Linked DNA regions of Homo sapiens: region 1 is linked to region 2. The links are contacts of gene promoters, found by promoter capture Hi-C in blood cells and fetal thymus (Javierre and others, 2016). All regions are on one chromosome and are shown on one strand. The core of a region is centred on a gene start or on the middle of the fragment in contact, and the rest is flanking DNA. Distances in the headings are between cores, read along the strand shown.

The links. The method cuts DNA at HindIII sites, captures the fragments that hold promoters and counts their contacts. A CHiCAGO score of 5 or more calls a contact.
Region 1: a fragment that was not itself captured here is called in contact with the fragment with the promoter of BIRC2 in region 2 in 1 of 17 cell types (non-activated CD4 T cells); the score reaches 8.7 in non-activated CD4 T cells.

The regions. Positions count from the first base shown.
Region 1 is chr11:85,747,595-85,753,250 of GRCh38, reverse strand. It overlaps SYTL2 (synaptotagmin like 2), which reads left to right. Exons shown (of 20, transcript NM_206927.4): 3 at 4,828-4,979. Among named protein-coding and RNA genes, the nearest start is that of SYTL2, 61 kb to the left of the region's middle. The HindIII fragment of the contact is 219 bases long and covers 2,820-3,038 here.
Region 2 is chr11:102,345,651-102,351,102 of GRCh38, reverse strand. BIRC2 (baculoviral IAP repeat containing 2) reads right to left here and starts at 3,889. Exons shown (of 9, transcript NM_001166.5): 1 at 3,727-3,889; 2 at 354-2,505; 3 at 160-259. The coding sequence starts at 1,248. RefSeq lists an enhancer at 3,268-3,337. The HindIII fragment of the contact is 3,484 bases long and covers 1,913-5,396 here.

The DNA.
Region 1 (5,656 bases), core at 1,680-4,179, about 17 Mb after region 2:
TTCTCTCCTGCTGCCCTGACCCACCTTTAAGGAAACATAACCATACATACACATATGTAATTTTAGTCTTTTATGGTTTGAAAATCACATACTCAAAAGGTGGCATTTCCTGTGCTTTGCGTCACACTGCCAGCAGGAAATTGCTGCTCATGTCTGTCTGTACACCACCACCAGCACTGCATCCCCCACCCCCATATACACACAACCACATCTACAGCGATGGGTGTTTTTGCAGTAGATACGATCTCAACCGCCACCACATCTTATGATTCTCAGCTGCCTCCTTAGACCTAGTTGTGTTTTTTTTTTTTTTTTTTTTTTTTTTTTTTTTTTAATGAAGGCAGTTGTCATTGAAGGACTAATTTCCAGGACCTCTCATGGTGTTTTTCTGTCAAAGCAAAGGGGAAAGGAACTAACATTTGTCAAGGGACTGTACATGGATCTTCACATAGATTTTCCTATTTCATCTTCAAAACAGTGTAGCTGAATCCACTTAACAGATGAGGAGATAGGGTTGAAGAGGGTAAGTGCCCCGCAGGATTGAAGCCTTGTTGATCCAACATCAAGGCCTGTGCACTTCCCTTACACTGTGCTGCCTCTCAGCAGACTGCAGAGATCTACGATGTGTCATGTAAAAGGTGGATATTTCTTGTTTTCTACTCTAAGGAAGGTTTGTAGTTTGTTTTCCACATGTTGGTTTTCAGATTCTTCATCAAAGATTGAGTTCCTTAGGAGAAAGAGTGAAGTGTGACAGCCATCTTAGAAACCGAAATCATGTTTGGCTCTCTGAGGCAGGATCGGGTAGTAGAAAGTGTGTTGGCTGGGAGTCAGACTGGCTTCTGCTGCCAGCTCTGTGTGACCTTGGGCAAGCCTCTTAACTTCTCTGGGCTTCTATCATTTTATCTAGAAAGTGAGGTCATTTGTAACTATCTAAGGTACCTTTCAGCTCTCACATTCAAAACAAACATCTGAGAGCACCTCCAAATCACACAGTCTAAACATCTTGCCCAGTATATTCTGGGCAAGATGAAAAAAGAAAGGCTGGAGAATAGACCAGTCAACCTATCTGGCCAGCAGCTGTCCACAGTTGACTAAATACTATGAACCAGGTCCTGCAGGTGATGTTCGAGCTTTGCCTAGTCCTGTTGAGTAGCTGGAAGCTGAGGTGTACATAAGTGAGCACAAGGAGAAAAGGGGTAGGCTGAGGGCAAATGTGTTGAATCCAGCCCAGAGGGCATTTCTGCTCTTCTGGCTTTCCTCTGTAAGTGCTCACACTCTTGGCATGAAAAGGAGTTGACATTGACAGTTAGGGCTGTAGATAGAATTTTTAATGTCCAATTTGAAGCAGATGGCTGGTATGGGAATTAATGAGTCAGTGAACAAATAGCCAGACAGGGTTTAGATATGGCTTTTAGCATACAGAAGAGGTAAAATGGCCATCTTTTGAAATGGATGAAATTCTTTGAACAGCATGGTGAAATTGTAAGGATGAAATGATAAGAGGCTTGTTAAGTGTCAGATGTGTGGTTCAGCACAAAGCAGATACTGTGTGCTAGCTGAAGGAATGGGAGAATGAACGAGAGAATGACCAGGACATCCCACCTGGGAGGCCAGCAGGCCAGTGTACTTTCTGGATTGAGTGCTCTTCTTCAGCCCTCACTTCTGCCCACCAGCCCACCGGTGTTTACTGAGCGTCTTCTCTCTACTTAACTCTCTGCTAAACATAACGTGTGTGTGTGGAGAGGATGGTAAAGGATAAATGTCAGTCCCAAGAAACTTACCCCTTTCTCTCTTCATCTAGATGGTACGATAATTAGAGAATCAAATGCTCATTTTGTTGATGTAATTAGAGTTCAGAAAAAAATGAGAGATGAACGTGGGCTGGAAAACGAGAAGATTTTAACAGCAGCACTAGATAGTGGGATTCTAAAAATGATCTACATCTTTACAAAACTTTGATGTTATACATATGGATTTATCTACGAAATAGTACAAGTGACTAAGATAGAAAAAGAAGTTGATTATTAAACCTAGTAGTGATAGTCATGTAAGGAAATATGTAAGTGGCACTTAACTACATTTGAAAGAATTTCCTGTTCTTTTGCCACTTTAAAACAAGTGAGCCAGAAACCCTTTCCTTACTATAATGGCTATCAGCCTTTGTAGGGACCATGTGTTTCAGGGAGTCGATGCAAAACCTGTGCTCATTGTGCATTGATCGTGGGCTTACAGACAGTCATTTAGGCAGGAACAGATCAAGGGTTGCACAAGAATCCCCACAAAGTGCATTTTAGTTGAAAAACAAAAATAAACAATCTTATGAAAAGAAATTGGGTGTTGTTCTGCTATAAGGGTTTGTGGCCTCCTTCAACAAGAATGCTGACCGACACCACATTTCATGATGTTTTTTCCTGTTCTGATGAGAGATGAGCATGTCCTGCTGCATCAGGAGGAGACACCATTCATTGTGATGGGGTCTGAGGTTCACTTAATCACAGCAGTGACAGGATCTTCTTGATCTCTTGCCTGACTCAGGATGGCTGCTGAGCGTTTATTTGTTCTTTGATTTATTCACTCAACAGACAGTTATTGGGTATCAGCTCTGTTCCAGGCTCCGTGCTAGGTGCTGGCATTACAAAGGTGGTTAAGACATAGTCCTCACTTTCAAGGAGTTTGCAAAGACCACAGGTTAGTGAGTACAACAGATGTGCAAACAGATCACTGGAATATGATATAGTAAGGACTGAAGTGGAGGTGCTGTGGGAGCAATGGAAAAGGAGAAACTGTAATAACTGTGCCCTCCTGAGTTAGGGAAAGCTTCCCAGTGAGGCAGTGTTTGAGCTGGATTTGAAGGATGAGGAGCAACGGGCTGGACAGAGAAGTGAGGGAAAGACATCCCATGAGACTTCACATTAACTGGCCTTGTACCAAGATCTAGGCAGTACTAAGTACTTTCAGTTAAACATCTCAATCATCTCAGAAGTCCTGGAGGGTAGGTCTTATTTTCCCTGATCCTTAAAAACAAGGAGACTAAAGCTTAGAGGAGTTTGGTAAACTGTCCAAGATCCCATCTAGGAAGGGTCAGAACTGAGATTTGGATGTAATTTGGGGAGCCTTGAAAACCCAGAGTCTTTCTGCCACAACTTCCTGCCTCTGTCATCTACAGAGGTCACAGAAGAGCACTGGAGAATTGTAAGAAGCTGAGCCTGCTGGCAAGTGGGGTATGGGCGTGAGTGCTGGAAAAATGAATCTGAAAAGGTAACCTGAAGCCTTTTTAGGTGGTCAGGAGCCTCATCTGATATTCCTCCACTCTGCAAGATCTGAATAAATACCCCGTATTTTCCAGACACTAAACAAAGATGTATTGAGTACAGACCCTGCCCCCAGGAACTCACCAGGGAGAAGTAGAAGAACTTCTCCATTCTGGAATTGAACTCAAACTTGGTCCTTTTGGGAGGAGAAGGCAAAGGTTCACCAACAGTCCAGCAGTTGTTTGCTCTGCTGAAAACAGTGTTGAAAGCAGTGTCAAACCATTAGGAACATTTAATAAAAACCATGATATCGTTGCTGACTGAGAACTATGAAGCAATGATGCTCTCCCTGTTAGGGTTTATAGATGGGGCTGTCATGACAAAGAGAGGAAGTTCCTGTAAGAGTTTACTCTGGGTGGAAGGACACTCTCCAGGCACGCTTGGGAGAGAGGAGACATTCTTGCTAGACCTGGGATAACTGCTCCCCCTCTTTTTCCCACTCCCAGGTATGCCTGTGTGCAACCCTTACATGCAGCGCTGCTACCACCTTGGCCCATTCACATTCTCTGCCTGAAGCACTTTGATTTGCTAATTGAGGAAGAGTGCATATTAGTTTGTATGACTATCTTAAAACCCTCTTGGATTTATGTTAGCACATTATCTTCCAAGAGTATAGTGTTCCCTTACAGCTTTTATTCCACTTTATTCTAAGTACATCTCTATAAACAAGAGAGATTTTGTGATTTTTTTATTTTACTGAGATGGATAGAGAGATGGAGAGGTTAAGACTTGTCAGTTAGAACAAAGTTTTTAGGGAAGTTTTAGGAGGGCAGACTATCTTGTTTGTTCTTTAGGTTTTAGCTTTTCAGTAAGCATGAATAATTGTGAAACTCTTAAATGCAGGATCTGCACAAATGGAACTTGCCTGTACACACTCCTCCTCAATTTTGGTCTTCCCTGATTCCAGCAGCCTTTTAAAGATGCCTTTCCCTAACAATAAGCATCAGAGACATCACTCCTCCTCCACAGGCTTCCAGGAAAGTCTCTAATAAACTCATATCACCCAAAATGGAAAGGACTGATGAGCTAATGACTACCCCATCCAGTGTTTATTAGGTGCCAGGGAGGTGCAGAGAGCTATTGAATGAATTCACTCGGTTAAACCTCAAAGAAACCCCAATTTTAAAGTCCAAAGGTTACTATTACTAATGCTTTTTTACGGATAAGGAAACCAAGGCTTAGGGAAGCCTACCGTATTATCCCTCCCTGGGGTATTTGCATTTGAACAGCAGACACTGAAGAATGCAGCCAAAAAGTGAATCTGCTCTTGAGAAATTTCAGGCATCATACGGGAATCGTGGATTAAACCTTTATTTGAAAAAATGTTGGCCTTGTCTTCTCTGACTTTTCAAAGGTGAACATACACTTGTTAGTCATCTGGGAAGTTTCTGGGATCATCTGAAATATTAAAGCTTCATTTTATCTGTGTGTTTACACATGTCTTTATGCGGTGTCATAATGAACTCATTTATTTACTGTGGGTTCTCAGCAAACTAAAGATCTTTTCCTTTTGTAGACATTTGCCTGAAAAAATTAAGGATGACCAGCAGCTGAAGAATATGAGTGGCCAATGGTTTTATGAAGCCAAGGCAAAAAGGCACAGGGACAAAATCCATGGCGCAGATATCATCAGAGCATCTATGAGAAAGAAGAGGCCCCAGATAGCAGGTGAGTTGACTTGGCTAGTGCATTTACAACAAGCATTCGTTTGGGAAGGAGGAGCGGGGAGAAGGGAATGGTGTCAGAAATCTGCTGATGGAAATCATTTGGATGTACACTTTTCATAATGTGTGGCCCTCTAGTTTAAATTTCCCTTGCCTTGGATTTGGATGGATGAGGGCAGAGCTAAGTGACTCAGTGTGGTGTAGAGGAACATAGGAAGCCCTTTAGGTGCCCTGTTGAATTATAGTAGCATAGATAGTTGGGGCCTGTAAAGGATCTACCACCTCTTCTTTGGCTTTTAACTCTGAAGATTCAGAATCTTCTGAGTAAAATGAAGGGCTTAGACAAAAAGATATCAGCCTCTCTTTTCAGTGATCTTAACATATGGTAGTACTTTCTTAATTAACCAAGTACATTATTTAAGAGACCGTAAAGACATTTTTTTAATGGAAAAACCTTCTTGTTTATTTGATTAAACAAAAATAAATTAAGCTGTATAGGAACAAGTTTAAAGTCCAGACAGACATCAACTTTGTTTTGAGGCTGTAGTAGCTGACACAGCATCTCCTTGCTACCTACTCCAGCCCTCTCTGTGGACCACAGTGATATATTCAAGAGCCTGTTAGCTAACACAGGAGTTTTAAAACACTTTTCCATTGGTTCTTCACCTGCTTATTGCCTGT
Region 2 (5,452 bases), core at 2,640-5,139:
AAAATAATTAAAGTTAAAATGTGATCTTTTAGAAGGATAATTCCCCAATGGCATAAAAGAGGCTTTGTTATAATTTAAAGGTAAACAAAATCATGTAGGCATGCCTACTTCTTTTAAGCACAGAGTTTTTTGTACAAATACCTTTTTCAAAACAATTACCTTGGAAACCACTTGGCATGTTCTACCCATGGATCATCTCCAGATTCCCAACACCTCAAGCCACCATCACAACAAAAGCATTTGACATCATCATTGCGACCTTCAGGAAAAAAAAGACTAAATATTGAAAACACGTATGTTCTAATATGTAAATTAAAATAAAATGATAAAATGTATAGTTATTTGCTTCTTACCCACATAATAAAAACCAGCACTTGCAAGCTGCTCAGGCTGAACTGGAACACTAGATGGCCAGTACATAAATGTTCTCATTCGAGCTGCATGTGTCTGCATGCTCAGATTTGAAATGCTAAACCTCAGAGTTTCTAGAGAATTTTCCAAAAATGGACAGTTGGGAAAATGCCTCCGGTGTTCTGACATAGCATCATCCTTTGGTTCCCAGTTACTGAGCTTCCCACCACAGGCAAAGCAGGCTACCCTATCTCCAGGTCCTATATAATAAAAACCAGCTCTTGCCAATTCTGATGGTGACAAAAAAGTTAATGGCCACATATGGTAGGTAAGAAATCTGGCTTCTTCAGTACTCATTGCATAACTGTAGGGGTTAGTCCTCGATGAAGAGATGTCTTCAACTGCTCTAGAATTAAGAGGGTTTGGAGAAAGGCTGGAGTAAGAACCACTGAACAAGCTACTATGTTCCAAGGTGGGAGATAATGAATGTGCAAAACTGTTTCTCATTGGAGACGTATTCTTAGAGGTGGATCCCAGACTAGCTGAAACCAGATTCTGAATAAAGCTACAGCTAGGATATAGCTGTTTATGCTTTTGAATAGGACTGTCTCCTAGTTTCCAGTTATCCAGCATCAGGCCACAACAGAAGCATTTGACCTTGTCATTCACACCAGTATAATAAAAACCAGCACGAGCAAGACTCCTTTCTGAGACAGGCACCCCGGCGGGGAAAGTTGAATATGTAGACATTCTGTAGAGTTCACAGGAAAAGTCATACTTCATTTTTTGTTTGTTGCTGTTTGTCCAATCTGACAAGATCGTGCTATCTTCCATTATACTCTTAATGTTTTGATACGAGGGACCTGGGAAAAGTCTTTGGGAGGCAGTTTTGTGCATGAGTAGGTGACAGTACTGTTTGATAGCTAAAACATTCACATGAAATTTCTTCACATGAACTAAGATTTTTACCACAAAAAGAAATCAATGATAGACTCTTATGTAGAATTTACTACACTTTCTTTACTGGATTTATCTCAGTTTATATTCAGGTAGGATGAGTATCTCTCTGAATTACCAAGATACTACTTAGAACACAACTCTTTGGGGTTGTAGTAACTCTTTCAGGTAACCTAAGTGCTATTTGTTCATAATCTTGAGTAATACTAACTTAAAGCCCTGAAAGGTGGATGCACTTCTGAAAATATTAAAACTCCTTGATTTTTCACAGAGATTTATATTAACAAAATTCTAAGCAACTATAGAATACCTAAATTATGCCTTTTATTTATATTTGGTTACAAGCTATGAAGCCTGAATAACAGACCAATTACTGATTATGCCACAAGGTAAAAAATTATATGCAGGCTTCTTTCCCTATAAGCACTTTAACATGACAACCCAAAAAATCTCATTTTATTCCAATAAACAAAAGTAATTAAAACCTTCATATGGTCACACTATTTAAAAGCTAAGTTCACACAGCTTATCATCATAGTATTTACTTAAGTGGGCTAAATTACTTCAGCTGACAACTTTTGGGGGAAGTCAATACCCACAAGCTTTGTTGAACCTGTGCCTGCTATAGTGCTTGATGTCAAATGAATTTGGCTTAAAGTTCAAAAACTGTAAACTCTATCTTTGTTAAATATCATTTGTATTTGTTTCCATTTCCTGCAGCATCATGTTGACTTTCTTCCTAACTTTGTATACCACTATTATTCTTGATCAACTGAAGGTATTTTCTCCATAAACTTAGTTAGCCATAAAATTTCCACAGCACACTTTTTACACTGCATTTAAAAACTAAATAACCTGTTCATCATTTAAGGACTATTCAGCTATAATTATCAGTCATGTTGTAAACATTAATCAATTTATCACAAGATAAAACTTGTCCTTTCTAGTGTTATCAGAAACGCCTAACAAAATATTGTACTACCAAAAAAGTACTGCTTAGCATAAAGTATCAGTAATCAACTCTACTAGCCTTCTTTCTGAAAACTCTTCAATGTTTTAAAAATATAATTCATACACAAAATTACACTCCATAGAATTCAAACTATATCCCTTTATAAAGTTTCGAGATCTCCATAATGGGATTTATTACTGCAGGGGGACAAAATAGGGATAGGGAGATTCTTCAGGGTTGTAAATCTGAAAAGAAAAAACAAAAAGTATTTTAGAAAACTGTATGTGCATGCCAAATAGAACTTACATACTCTTCAATTTATTCAGTAAAGTCTAAGAATAATTCACACTTTAGATAATACATCTTAATTCCAGCAATTTGTCACAACTTTCTAAATGAAAAAGCTATTAATTAAAATAAGTAAATGCAACATACTCCCCATAGCACTAACTATACGTGTCTTTAAAACGCACAACTTCAGAGACAGATGGAAATTTTCACACAGGAAACATTTTGTCCTTGCTCTCCTCCCCTTTTCTGGCCTAAAGGTAACTCTGGCACTCTGCTGGAGGCAAAGGCACATTGGTTAAAAAGACAGACAGACACTCCACTACACCCTGTCAGCAGCAGTACAGCAGGAATTAAGACAGCAACGTTAGTTTGTAATATCAAGTCTCTCCACGACTAGGAAAACTGCAGTAAAATGCACCACGAGTTCATTAATATAAACTCTTAAACTCTGCCATTCCCTTACAATTTCAAAGCAACGACCACAGAAAGCAACTCGAAAACAAAACCTAACACAGTGGCCTGTGAAACAGTGGCTCCGGCACTACGACCACTGGCATGATTGCTTTAATTACACCCGGTCTTATATCCTATCTTTAAATGAAAGATTTTTATCTACGTGCACCGCACTGCTGCATTCTCTTTACGCAAATTGCAGCTGGGCAGGGGATAGGATGGAAGGGAAAAGAATAGAAACTATGGGATTTACCCAATAATTTCCCAGAGTTGCTTCTCACAATACACAACAGACGACTACTGGAATGACAGAGCGCAGTGGCAACTATGAAATATGAAATATCGCCGCCACCGAAATATCTTCGTTTCAATGTATTACATTAAAAGAACGCCGAGGGCTAAGTTTAAAACCTTGCAAAAACTGCGAGAAAACATCTTGGTCAAAGTCCAAGGGCCAGAAGAGTGGGCGGCGGCCAGAGGCTTGAAAACAAGTCATTTTAAAAATCGCTTTGACTGCAAGTCTCGAAGTTGGGGCTTCCGAATCCAATAAAACCTTGGCGAGAGTAGAAAGCAGAGAGCCCCCGGCGACCCTCGACCCTTGGCCGAAGGGCCTCAGGCCCCGTCCTTCCTCGTTCGCCGCCACATCAGGGAAGTGGGCCCCCGCGGGCCCTCGCGTCCCCACCCGCCCCACGCCGCCCGAGCCCGGAAGGAGCAGCACTCACCGCAGTGCGGGCGCAGCAAACACGGAAGCTGCGCGGCTGCCTAGAGGCCTCCGCAGAGCCGGGAATCAGCGGCGCCGACAAGGAGATACGGCCCGCTCGGCTCGGATCAGCCCGGGCGCTCCCGAAGCCCGCCGCCCCATCCGGGCTCACTCTGACGCACGATGACGTCAGCGCGCCCGGCCGAGGACCAGCGTTAGCCGCCGCGCGAGGGCGCCCGGGAGGCTGGGGCCGGAAAGCGGAACCGAGAGCGCTTTCCGCCGTGCGGCGATGAACCTCCGGGAAAGACGCTGGGAGGCCAGGATGCCCGGCGCAACTGGACGCTCATCGGGAGTCACGGGGTCGGCCCTCAGGGGAACGGGGACTATCCGTATCAACTCGGTGTTTGTTCGTTTTCTTCACCTTGCGGTTTGTGCCCTCTCCACATTTCCTCTCTGTGTCTACCATTCTCCTGGGGGACGTGGCAAACCGTGAGCCGCTGCGTTTGAGTTTTGGGAAACCCTGCGGAAACGCCCTGGCGCCGGTGGTTTTGCGCGTCCTACCCTGTGTCACCTCAGGGTTATGATCTGGCCCCTGGCAAGGCTCCCCAAGTGTGATGCCTCCCCCCGTCCAGATGACTGCATTTTGAGGATGGAGTCAGTCTGGTGGCATTTTTTGCTTAAGTAAACAATTGTAACCGTTTGTGTAGCATCAGCGTTCAACAGCTGCCTGTGCAAATCGAAAAAAGCGAAACTTTGGAAACTAGGAAGCATCAGATGAATAATTCTGAAGACTTGATGTCAACGGGAGTATCTTGTTTTTAAACTTTTGGTTTTCTGTTCTGGAGACAAACAGTTCATATGCACTAAAGAAAAAAGTGTCATTATTTCAGATGCTCATTGCCAGCAAAGAGAACTGTATTGCAAGTCAGGCTTCACTCCCAGTATTTTCTGAATGTTTCAATAAAATGAAATATATACGTCTGCCTGTGTATTGGTGTACATGCACATATAATTGTACATAAACCAGAGAGGAGCCCAATTTTTTTTAATGCTTAGGTAATAGAAAATTTGTAAATAAAAACCCTTGGCTTTTGCTAGTCATGGACCTTTTGTATCCCCCCGCCATACTCCCCCAATAGTGCCATAGACACAGTGTCGTGCAGTAAATGTTTGTGGTATGACAACCAACGAACGACTTTTGAAGTTGACGCTCTTTGCCCGTTGAATCCGATGCTTGCTTCTCTCTGGGGAACTCCAAGGGGCAAATATTTAAAAAACTTCCAAATAGCAAGCCACTTAATTAGGGAGCCGGGGGAATTCCAAGACCCTGAACCATTTCCCATTTCCTGTCTGTGTCATTTCTGCCTGCCAGTCAGTCACAGAACAGGAGGTCTACTGTTCCAATGTTAATAGTCAAAGAAAGTGAGTGTAACAGTTTGTAATACAGAGAAAAGAAATGCCATGGCTCCCAATGACTAAAAACTTCCAAAAATGCACCTGGGGCTTGGTAGTAGTTTAGTATTTAGTTCAAGTCACTATTTCTCGGAAGGTTTACAGAACATTCCTAACACATGTGGGAAAATATATATAGCAAGAATTGTTCATTCTGAACTCAAGATTATTTCTCTTTTTCAGTTCTTGTCCTGACCAAAGCAGTAAGATAATGAATATACTTAAGTATAGGGGAAAGCTTGCATTTCAAAAACTCAAAAGCCTTAGATATTTTTAACAAAAAATATTTGTAATAT